Regions from separate parts of the Homo sapiens genome. Here all the other regions are linked to region 1. The links are contacts of gene promoters, found by promoter capture Hi-C in human tissues and cell types (Jung and others, 2019). All regions are on one chromosome and are shown on one strand. The core of a region is centred on a gene start or on the middle of the fragment in contact, and the rest is flanking DNA. Distances in the headings are between cores, read along the strand shown.

Region 1 (3,131 bases), core at 207-2,706:
TTTTAGCATTCTTGGCCCTGCCTGCTATTCATCAGGTCCCACTCCTCTAACAGCTTGTCATTCGAAGACCCAAAACATCCCCTGTAAAGTTAGAGCTGCTTACCTGAAACAGAAGGTGTCTGGAAGAAACTTCTTTCTTGCTATTTTGGCATTTGCAAAGCAGCCATTATCTAAGAAATATCACTAGTCTTTCCCGACATCTCCCTTGAAATCATTTTGGCTCAAATGGAGATCAGATCAAGCTCAAGATACTCCCATGGCTTTCCATACTATTCAGAGTGAAAGCCCAACTCCTTTCTGTGACCTCAGGCCTCTTAAGATCTGACCTGGTTCCCACTCTGATCTCAACTCCTATTACTATCCAGCAAGTGCCCTCCGTTCCAGCCATGCTTTTGCCCCAGAGCCCCCCCGCCCTCCACAGGGAGGACTGAAATGGTCTTCTCACAGACTTCTATCTGGCTTGCCAACCTCATCTTCACATTCATCTTGCCTGACCACCCTATTTAAAAGCACTTCGTGCTGTGTGTCGGTGTTATGTTCTTTTTGAACACATCACAAACATTGTTTAATTAGCTTTCCGTCTCTCCCCAGTTGTGTGACAATGAGGGCCAGGATCTTTGTTTTGTTCCCAGTATCCCCAGTCCCTAGGTGCTCAGTAAACATTTCCTGAATGAAGGGCTGTGTGTGGCAGCAGAGCTGGGACAGGAAATACAAGCTAGCCCCCAAAGCAAGGTTTAGGAGGCACTGTGGGGCTCTTCTCGCTTATTTCCTACGCTTTGCAGTGATCCCACCCTTGGCTGGAAGCCAAGTTCTCCAGCGGACTTCCTTAAACTGAACCCTAGGAAGTGGAGCCACACCTGGCCCCCTATAAACGACCCAGAGCAAGGTTACTGCTTGGTCTTTGGGAGGAAGTTCAGAAGAAAGTCTTTGGCCGTATTAATAGTGTTAGGTTTTACTGTGACCATGTCATTCTCAGGGATGTTTGTATATCAAATACTATTTCTGGAGAGGACTGAAACCCAAATGATAGCACTTTTGGCCTGTGGAAGAGATGAAGCTAAGTGGGGTGGTAAATTGTGGTCAAATTCTATGGTGAAGTCCATGACAAGCAACATGCCGTCAGCGTAAATACAGCGCGGGTCCTCTAGCACAACAGAACCCCTGACATCCACTCCATTCCACTACTTTGGGGAGTGATGAAGAAAGGGAGAGGGTTGGGGTCGTCAGCGGCGGATCCACCCCTCCATCAACCCCCGCCCCCGCCCCGCTCCAGGCTCCCTGGCCCGACACCGCCCACAAACTAACCACTTGTTTTGTCCACGCCCCCTCCCATGGGCACGCCCCAGGCCTTGGCCCCGCCCACCTACTCCGGCTGGACTTGTGCCCGGCCCTGCCCCTTGCGACCGGCCCTCGCGCCGGCCTCACGTTCAGGCTCCGCCCCCGGCCGCGCCTCCCTCCTTCCCTTTCCGACAGCGCGGGAACGGCTGCGGCTTCGGGCGGCCGGGTTTCTCCGGTCTCCCAACGCCGAGGAGAGCTTGTAACAGGCGCTGGAGCTGGCCCGCCACCGCCGCGTCAGGGACGGCGCTGGAGTCCTCCGTTCCCCTCAGCCTCTGAGCTGAGGCCCCACACCAGAGTAGGGGGCGGCGCGGCACCCGTGCCCCGGCATGGCGACACCGGACGCGGGGCTCCCTGGGGCTGAGGGCGTGGAGCCGGCGCCCTGGGCGCAGCTGGAGGCCCCCGCCCGCCTCCTGCTGCAGGCGCTGCAGGCGGGGCCTGAGGGGGCGCGGCGCGGCCTGGGGGTGCTCCGGGCGCTGGGCAGCCGCGGCTGGGAGCCCTTCGACTGGGGTCGCTTGCTCGAGGCCCTGTGCCGGGAGGAGCCGGTCGTGCAGGGGCCTGACGGCCGTCTGGAGCTGTAAGTCCTCGCCCGCGGCCCCTTAGCAGGTATGGGAGGCGGGGGGCTGTCGGGGGAACGACACACACAGAGGTGAAATAAGCCCCTTCAGCGACGGCCTGCCGCGCACCCTATGAGCAGGGGCACCCTTCACTGAGCACTTGCTGTGTGCGGGACATCGAGGATCCGGGAACTCGAGGCACACGCCTTCTGTTCGCTGTAAGGTATAGTGATGATAAGTGGAGGCAAATCACTTTTGATCGCGTACTTCCATCTCTAAAAAACTGGACTCGTACGTCCAGTGTAAGTATACTTATGTATAAAGTGTACACATGTGTTAAAATACGTACATTTTAAAGTACAAAAATAGATACTTAAAACGTGATGGTGGAATACGTATCCGCTATCCTGGTGGCTGTATGCTCTGCTTTTCAAAGCATAACGTTCACTTTAAGGCAAGATTGCTTTCTCTAAGAATGGTAACTGTGAATCCATATTTTAGTGTTCTTGATAATTTCTGGCTCTTGGATGACATTGAACTTTTTTTTTAACCTCTCTGTGGCTGACGAAGGATTCCTACTAGGAGCAGAGGTGTCGGCCCTGCCATTTTATTTGGTTGTGTTTCTGTTATTGATATTATCTCCAATTTTTTGGCAGGCATTCTTTTAAGCCACGTGCTTATTTGTGAGGACAACTTTTGCTTAAAAAAAAAAGAGTACAGTATCTACAGATGCACTTAACTAGCAAAGTTAACTAAAACACACAGAAAAATGAGTGGGTGAGGTGCCATGTTCAGCTCCTAGTGGGGCCAGCCTTCCACTCCTCTTGGATACCCCTCCCCCATAATTTATGCTGGAAACCATCCAGATGCTAAATATTTCTAATGCTTAATTTCTTATGTTTTAGATAAATAGGGGAAAATGGGAGTTCCAATATTTTCTTCCTACACTCCACTTTGAATTTCTTTCAGGAGATGGGTCAGGAGAACTTGTCTGAATCCCCAAATTGGAAGCTATAGAAATGTTTGCCCAGCTATCTGGCTTATTCTGGATAGAGTAAGGAGAGGGCAGGGCCTTAACCTGGGGCCCCTGGATAGAAGAGTATTTCAGCACAATTGATTTCCTTTATAATCCTAGATATTTTATCAAATGCATTTAACACTCATTCTGATCACAGGTCTCTGGCACTAAAACAGGTTAAAATTTCCTGGAGTAGGGTCTTCCCTATCTCTCTACCCCCA
Region 2 (2,785 bases), core at 234-2,733, 180 kb before region 1:
CTTCTGGTAGTTAAAGGAAGAAAACTTCTTAAGGCAGTTCTCCACCTTGGTGTTTATGCCAGCATGAATTAGAAAAGAAGTAGATTGATGTTTTTCATTTTCTTTTGAGACAGGGTCTTGCTTTGTCACACAGGTTGAAGTGCAGTGGCACAATCATGGCTCTCCAAAGCCTCAACTTCCTGGGCTTGAATGTTCCTCCCACTTCAGCCCCCGAGTAGCTGGGACCACAGCCATGTGCCACCATGCCTGGCAATTATTTTTGTAGAGACGGTGTCTGCACCTGACCTCAGCCTCACATTGATTTTTTTAAGACGGTGTCTCGGCTGGGCATGGTGGCTCATGCCTGTAATCCCAGCACTTTGGGAGGCTAAGGTAGGTGGATCACTTGAGGTCAGGCGTTCGAGACCAGCCAGGCCAACATGGCGAAACCCTGTCTGTACTAAAAATACAAAAACATTAGCCGGGCCTGGTGGCGCGCACCTGTAATCCCAGCTACTCTGGAGGCTGGGGCAGGAGAATCGCTTGAACCCAGGAAGTGGAGGTTGCAATGAGCTGAGCTCGCACCACTGCACTCTAGCCTGGGCAACAGAGTGAGACTCTGTCTCAGAAAAAAAACAAAAAACAAAAAACAAAAAAAAAACGAGTCTCACTCTGTTGCCCAGTGAACTCTGGAGTGCAGTGGTGTGATCTCAGCTCACTGCCACCTCCACCTCCCAGGTTCAAGCGATTATCTTGCCTCAGCCTCCTGAGTAGCTGGGATTGCAGGCGTGCACCACCACACCTGGCTAATTTTCGTATTTTTAGTAGAGATGGGGTTTCGCCATGTTGGCCAGGGTGATCTCGAACTCCTGACCTCTAATGATCTGCCTGCCTCAGCCTCCCAGTGTGCTGGGGTTATAGGCGTGAGCCACTGCACCTGGCCAGACATTGATTTTTAAAGCCCAAGTCAGGGCCAGGCACAATGGCTCACACCTATAATCCCAGTACATTGGGAGGCCAACGCAGGCAGATCATGAGGTCAGGAGTTCAAGACCAGCCTGACTAACATGGTGAAACCCCATCTCTACTAAAAATACAAAAATCAGATGGGCATGGTGGTGCATGCCTGTAATCCCAGCTACTCAGGAGGCTGAGGCAGGAGAATTGCTTGAACCCGGGAGACTCCATCTCACAAAAAAAAAAAAAAAAGAAATGGGGGTCTCACTATGTTGCCCAGGCTGGTCTCAAACTCCTGGGCTCAAGGGATCCTCCCACCTCAGCCTCCCAAAGTGCTGGGATTTCTTTTAAATGGCGCTTCTTCTTTTAAAAAGAAGAAAAAAAAAATTGAAGAAAAAAAGCAATATGCTTTATGCAAAGATGTGTTTTAGCTGTTTAAAACTTATGTTAGTGCAAGTTTGTGTTACTAATTTCCTGTTTTCTCTTCAGTGTTTAGAAACCCACAGAACCAGGCCTGTTCACTAGGTTTTTCTGCGTGTAGTGAAGTATTTTTCTATAATAAACATTGAATCATTTTACTGCAACTTTTCCAAATCTGGTTCTGATTTGTTTGCCACTCATCTTCATCAGCCTTCATCCCTCCCAAACTAATGTGTCTTTTTTCTCATGAGAAGTTTTCTATGTTTACAAATGAAGAAGTTTCTAAGTGAAGATTAAGTCATAATTATTTTTGCTAATCAAAATTGAACATTCTTTTCAGGCAAATGTTTTTGTTGTTGTTTTCTTTTTTTGGCTTCTAAATACAGTTGCCCTCTGGGCTGGCTGAGGCAGAGTACAGAAAGCCTTGTTCCAACTGTCCAGAGTTCTGGTTGGCAGAAGACAATAGAATAGCGAACAGGTGCCTGTAGTCAGCACAGCCCAGCTTGTGTGTGGAGCGCAGTAGGTCTCAACCATGATAAAGTGGAAAAACACAAAAACCATGGCTACTCTTTAGTTTCCTATCTTTCACATCCCTTATTTTTCTCCTTTGAGGAGGCAGTTTAAGCACATCTTGATTCATGGAGAGACCTAAAGATCCAAAGTATCTAAAAAGTTGGGAGTAGTGGCACACACCTATAGTCCCAGCCACTCAGGAGGCTAAGGCAAGAGGATCGCTTGAGCCCAGGAGGTTGAGTTTACAGGAGCTATGATCACTGCATGCCAACCTGGGCAACAAAATGAGATCCTGTCTCTAAATAAATAAAAGGTTTTTCTAAATGTTCTCTCTCCTCAATAATTACAATTTATGTTTTAACATTAAGAAACACATCGATATATTGCAAAGGTGAAGGGTTGTTTTCCTGCATCAGGACCAGTAATGGGTTAAGTTTATTTAAAAGTGCAGCAGGCCGGGTGCAGTGGCTCACGCCTGTAATCCCAGCATTTTGGGAGGCCAAGGTGGGCGGATCAAGAGGTCAGGAGTTCGAGATCAGCCTAACCAACATGGTGAAACCCCGTCTCTACTAAAAATACAAAAAAATTAGCCGGGCGTGGTGGTGCATGCCTGTAATCCCAGCTGCTCACGAGGCTGAGGCAGGAGAATTACTTGAACCCAGGAGGCGGAGGTTGCAGTGAGCCGAGATTGTGTCATTGCACTCCAGCGTGGGCGTGAGAGCAAGACTCCATCTCAAAAAAAAAAAGAAAAAAAATTGCAGCAAACAGAACTGGATTTGCTCCTAGTTCTGGGAGAGTCAAGAGTGCTCCCTTCTGTCTTCACTCTTTTCTCACCTTCCGCTCTCCCAGTCTGTCTCTCCCCTATACACAGCTCAGGTCATTGCAGAGCTAGTAAACCTTATATCCTACAAGGAGA
Region 3 (2,899 bases), core at 387-2,886, 130 kb before region 1:
TCTTTATATCTCTGTGTTTCAGTTCCCACGTTGGTAAAATAGAGATAATGACTGTACTTACCATATAGGGTTATATGAGGATTAAGTGGCACACGAGCAAGCACCATTATTAGAATCAGCCAAAAGTGTTTATTGAGTGTCTACTGCAGTTTTCCAGGTTATTTAATTCTCATGACAACTCTTAGAGCTGGAAATCACCATTGGCATTTTACAAATGGATGAATTGAGGTTCAGAGAGATTTGGCAACTTTACCAAAGCCTTTCAGACTTGCTTTTCTTCCCATCATCTCTGACTCGCTGACCTTGTTAGCCAAGACAGAGATCTGGGTATTTAGGAAGATTCATGTCCTCTCTCTCAGCCCCCTCATCCAAACCCCATCATCAAATCCAATAGACTCTCTCCTTCCTACTCTCCTATCTGTCCCTCCTTTTCCATCCCCATGGCTACTGCCATGGCTGAGGCCTTTGTGTTTTCTACCTGGTTGTTAACCTTTAACTCCTCCTCCGTCTTGCCCATCTCACCAAGTCCAACTGATTGGACTTCCTTGGTTACTCTCAGATCCACACTTTTGAGGCCATGTCTGTCATGGCTACTGCCTTATTCTGGCTCTTGTCACTTCCCAACTAGATAAGAGCAGTAACCAGGTCTCCTTGTCAACCCCTCTCCCCATTGCCACCTGGATAGGATTTCTAAAATGCAGATTTGTCCTTCACTCTTCCTAATTTCCAGTCCCTTGGTGGTATCCTAGAGTTTTGATATTTAAATTCACATTCCCATATGTGGCAGATGAGGCCCATGGCGATCTGTCCCAGGAGGGCCTCCTATGCCTCTGCCTTATAGAGCTACTTGCAGCTCCCTCTAGGCCTCACACTGACTTCCTTTCCCCCATCCTTGTAACAGCCTTCATAACTAAATGCTTGAGCCCCTCAAGGGCAGGGACATATCTTCTTGAACTAAGAGCCACGGTGATTGGCTCTTAGAAGGCATGCAACAAATATTTGTCAAATACATATATGAATGAATAAATTCTGAAGTGAATAATTCAGGTGTCACAAAGCTAAAAAGTTATAGAGCAGCTGAAATTCAAGTTCATTCGTTTTCCAGGTCCCTACAAGAGACAGGGTCTCTACAAAACTCGGCTGGCCTCCAACTCCCGGGCTCAAGCAGTTTTCCCGCCTCAGCTTCCCAAAGTGCTGGGATTATAGGCAGGAGCCAATGCACTCTGCCCTCATTCAACAAATGTTTATTAAGCTCTTATTATATGCCAGCTTCTGGCTATATTGTACAGAACAAAAACAGAGTCCCTGCCTTCCTGGAGTTTATGTGCTATCTGATTTTTTGAAACCAAGTCTCCAGGCTGGAGACTGTGCCTGATCAGTCTCCAGGCTGGAGCACAGTGCCTGATCAGTCTCCAGGCTGGAGCACAGTGCCTGATCAGTCTCCAGGCTGGAGCACAGTGCCTGATCTTGGTTCACTGCAACCTCCACCTCCCAGGTTCAGACGACTCTCCTATCTCAACCTCTGGAGTAGCTGGGATTACAGGCGTGTGCCACCACACCTGGCATTTTTTTGTTGTTTTGTACTTTTAGTAGAGACATGGTTTCACTACGTTGGTCAGGCTAGTCTCGAAATCCTGGCCTCAAGTGATCTGCCCGCCTCAGCCTCCCAAATTGCTGGGATTACAGGTGTGAGCCACTGCACCTGATTTACTTTGCAAATACACTAAACCTGATTGCAAGGAACTTCATTACAGTCTATTTAAAGTGTCGTGAAACAAAGCTGCTAATATAATGAGGCAGATTTCAAGGATGAGCGGTGAAGCTCAAAGTGCTGTAGGAATTCAGAGAAAAGGAAGTTTTAGGTAGGAGCTGGGATTTGGGATGGCCTTTACTTTTTAATAAAGGCAGCTGGGTGCAGTGGCTCACACCTGTAATCCCAGCACTTTGGGAGGCCAAGGTGGGTGGATTGTTTGAGTTCAGGAGTTTGAGACCAGCCTGGGCAACATGGCGAAAACCCATCTCTACAAAAAATACAAAAAAAAGTTAGCCGGGTGTGGTAGCAGACACCTGTAGTCCCAGCTACTTAGGAGGCTCAGGTGGGAGGATCACCTGAGCCCAGGAGGTTGAAGCTGCAGTGAGCTGTGATCGTGCCACTGCACTCCAGACTGGGTGATAGAGTGAGACACTATCTCAAAAAAAAAAAAAAAAAAAAAAAGACAGAAATTGTATGCATCCTATCCTCTGTAACTATTGCTTTTTGTTTTTTTTTTATTTTTTTAATTTAATTTTATTTTAAATTTTAATCTATTTATTTATTTTGAGACTGGGTTATGAGACTGGCTAATTTTTGTATTTTTGTAGAGACAAGGTTTCACCATGTTGCCCAGGCTAATCTCAAACTCCTGGGCTTAAGTGATCCACCCACCTCGGCCTCCCAAAGTGTTGGGATTACAAGCATGAGCCACCGCATCTGGCTGGTAACTATTATGTTTTAAACTAATGATGAAAAATACTATATGTCATCTTAAAAATGTGCAAGGTGGCTGGATGCAGTGGCTCATGCCTGTAATCCCAGCATTTTGGGAGGCCAAGGTGGGAGGATCACTTGAGGCCAGGAGTTCAAAGCCAGCCTGGGCAAAATAGTGAGCCATGTCTCTACAAAAAGTAAAAAAAAATTAGGTGTGGAGACATGTGCCTAGAGTCCCAGCTACTGGGGAGGCCACGGTGGGAGGATCCCTTGAGGCCAGGAGTTGGAGACCAGCCTTGGCAACGTAGTGAGACCCCATCTCTACCAAAAATTTAAAAACAATTTTTTTTAATTACCTAGGTGTGGTGCATGCGAAGGTCAAGGCTGCAATGAGCTATGATCATGCCACTGCACTTCAGCCTAGGCTACAGA
Region 4 (2,738 bases), core at 106-2,605, 240 kb before region 1:
AATATGGAAGGTCTCAGAACTGAATCACCTTTGAGGAGATCTTGGTCATTGCCTCTTCCTCCTGGGTACGCTGAGGGCTCTGTGAGGCTAGTCTGGGTCCTAGCAGCATCTTCCCTGTAGAAAACTGGACCTGGCCTGGTCTCATTCTGAACACAGCCTCACACTCCAAGAAAGTCTTCATAGCCTTTCAAGAGGTCTTTCCTCTTTCCCTTACAATGGAAGGAAAGAAGATACAGAGTGGGTGAACAGTCAAGAGGCAGCATCCATGGTTGGAAGACCCTGCTCCTTCTGCGGTTTGCCCCTGTTTTAAAAATATCCTTTCTCTTTCCTCTGCTTCCCCTCAGTTGGAAGGATGAAGGGTTCAGAATGGACCAGTCAGGACCACCTCTTGAAGCGGGGTGCAGGTTTGGAGGAGCCTCTTGTACCTGTCTCTATGTCTCTGTGTTTATACACATAGACATGATTCTGTGGGGTAGCTTTCGCCCCTGTGCTGACCACATGAGAGTGTCTGTATGTGAGTCCATGTCTCTGCGGGTAGGGTGGTTCATTAGGCTTACCTCCAAGGCCTTAACTGCAAGGGAGTCTGCCCTGGAGCTGGCAGTTTTAGCAGGCGGAGGCTACTTTCTTTTTGGTCCTCAAAGTGGACTCGCATCTAGGAATGGGGACTGAGTCTTGAGGTTGGGGGTGTGGTAGGTGTAAAAGTTGAGAGGTTGTTACTCGGCCTGGTGTCGGAGGCGGTGTGTTCCGAGGTCCTATGTCCCCTGTCAGGCTGTGTCGGTGGACACGCCCGAGTGCCCGTGTGTCCGTGTGTCCACGTCTGCCCCAGCCTCCCCAACACCTCGCACCCTCTTTGTCTCGGGTGGAGGTGTGCGTTCAAACCTGGCGCCGCACGGCCGTCCTCGCGAGCGAGCGCGGGGACGCACCCTCGCTCCCCGACTCTTTCCTAGGGGAGCGAGGACGAGTCGGAGCCCGGTGCTGTTTGGTCTGGAGCCGAGCGGAGCTTGCATTGATCCATTGATTGCGCGCGGTCTGCGCCTGACCTCCCTGCTCCCGGGGAAGCCGTCTCCATGGAGACCAGGCCCGCTCCCCCATCGCCGGATTGTAAATTCCTGCAGGCAGCGGCCCGGCAGCCTGGGGAGGGGGCCACCGCGCCCGGGCGCGCAGGGGGAGCGGCCACCGCGCCGAGGCCCCATTTGAAAGAAAAAAGGGCACGAAAAAGGAGGTGGTGGAGAAGGAGGAGGAGGAGGAGGAGGAGGAGGGGGAGGAGGAAGAAAACGAAAAGGAGCGAGGAGAGGAGGAGAAAGAGGAGGAGGAGGAGAAAGGCGAAGAAAAAGAGCCTGAGAGACGGAGAAAGAGCGAGAGAGGAAGAAAGAGAGGCAGAAAGGGCGTGTTTCTGGCGCTGCGTTTCCCCTCCCCTTTCTCAGGTCCTTCGCTCGGGCTCTGCGCGCTCTCCGGCTGCAGCTCTCTCCCGGCGAAGCTGGGAATTGGGTGGGATTACACGGAGCAGCCCCGCCGCCGCCGCTGGCAGAGGCCGGCTTGGAGAGGGCGGGGGTTCCCCTCCGTCAGTCGCCCCTGGCGCCCCTCGCCTCGTCGCACTCTCCGCCTCGCTCTCCCCGACGTCCGGCCAGGAGGAGCCGGTAGCATCGGGAGCCTCGCGCCGAGGGCGCCGCGGTCCGCGCCCCGCGACTGCAGCCCCCGGCCTGGCCCCGGCGGGGCGCCCCCTCCCCTCCCCCTCCTGCGAGCTGGGATCCGGCCGGCTTCCGCCCTCCCCTGGCCGCGAGACCGGCCCCGGCGGCTGGGCCGCCAGTAGCTCCAGCCATGGGCTCGGGGCGCGTACCCGGGCTCTGCCTGCTTGTCCTGCTGGTCCACGCCCGCGCCGCCCAGTACAGCAAAGCCGCGCAAGGTAAGGAAGGAGGGGCGCGCGGCCTGGGGGCTGTCCTGGCTGCTGGGCCTCAGGGCCTAGGAGCGATTCCCGAGGGGCAGGGCAGGTGCTGGGGAGCGTGCTGCTGTCAGAACCCGGCTCTGTGCACCCGGACTCCCCGGCCAGGGGCCCGACCGCTGGGCGCTGCGCCCCGAGCGAAAAGCCGGACAAGCTGGGGGCGGCAGAGAGGAGTGAGAAACTCTTGGGGGCGGTGGGCAGAAGAGACCACGCGCCTCAGAATTCCGCTCGACTTCATCCACTCCCAGCATCTTCGAAAGACTTCTTGTCTTCCAAAATCTGAGAGAGAATTTTCTCTTCTCTCAAACATTGCCAGAAACTTACGCTGTGGCCTGGAGAGACTGAGGGAATAATGAAAACTTTTCAGCCGTGCCGTATATTTCTTTCCCTTACCCCCAACCCGCATGCAAAGTTAGACATTTCTAAGTTGATGCCTTATCAGTGGAAAAATGTTGAAGAAAAATAGGATCTTTTATGGAAAAATCAACTCATCTCTCACCGGATGGTAGGGGGCTGAAGAAGAGAAGAAAATTTCTGTGACTGGCTCCCGACAGGAATGTTGCGTTTCTGCCTCTTTGGGGTGAAATCTCTTTCGTCTTGCATGGCTTTCATTTCTTATCATAATATTTATTTATTAAGGCCTCGGGTTTCCAATTCCATTTAAATCCAGGTCAGAATTGCATTAAAATAACAAAGTAGAATTCCAGGCCGGGGAGCTCTGACAGATCCCTCTAGGAATTAAAGAGAGACAGGGAGGCCTCCCGCCCCCGTCCCTGACCCCCAGCTCATCGCCTGGCAG

What was found. Contacts are between HindIII fragments. The study calls those that stand out against the background at their distance.
Region 2: a fragment that was not itself captured here is called in contact with the fragment with the promoter of FANCE in region 1 in 1 of the 25 tissues and cell types used here (spleen).
Region 3: a contact is called between a fragment that was not itself captured here and the fragment with the promoter of FANCE in region 1, in 1 of the 25 tissues and cell types used here (lymphoblastoid cells).
Region 4: the fragment with the promoter of SCUBE3 here is called in contact with the fragment with the promoter of FANCE in region 1 in 1 of the 25 tissues and cell types used here (adrenal gland).

The regions. Positions count from the first base shown.
Region 1 is chr6:35,450,882-35,454,012 of GRCh38, forward strand. FANCE (FA complementation group E) reads left to right here and starts at 1,457. Exons shown (of 10, transcript NM_021922.3): 1 at 1,457-1,912. The coding sequence starts at 1,665. RefSeq lists a silencer at 1,108-2,007. The HindIII fragment of the contact is 29,524 bases long and covers 1-3,131 here.
Region 2 is chr6:35,272,551-35,275,335 of GRCh38, forward strand. The region is part of intron 1 of ZNF76 (zinc finger protein 76); the gene reads left to right. Among named protein-coding and RNA genes, the nearest start is that of ZNF76, 14 kb to the left of the region's middle. The HindIII fragment of the contact is 4,724 bases long and covers 1-2,785 here.
Region 3 is chr6:35,321,952-35,324,850 of GRCh38, forward strand. No RefSeq gene overlaps it. Among named protein-coding and RNA genes, the nearest start is that of PPARD, 19 kb to the right of the region's middle. The HindIII fragment of the contact is 4,973 bases long and covers 1-2,899 here.
Region 4 is chr6:35,212,601-35,215,338 of GRCh38, forward strand. SCUBE3 (signal peptide, CUB domain and EGF like domain containing 3) reads left to right here and starts at 1,356. Exons shown (of 22, transcript NM_152753.4): 1 at 1,356-1,903. The coding sequence starts at 1,819. LOC112267955 (a long non-coding RNA gene) reads right to left here and starts at 1,080. Exons shown (of 3, transcript XR_002956343.1): 1 at 29-1,080. RefSeq lists a silencer at 1,380-1,489. The HindIII fragment of the contact is 11,734 bases long and covers 1-2,738 here.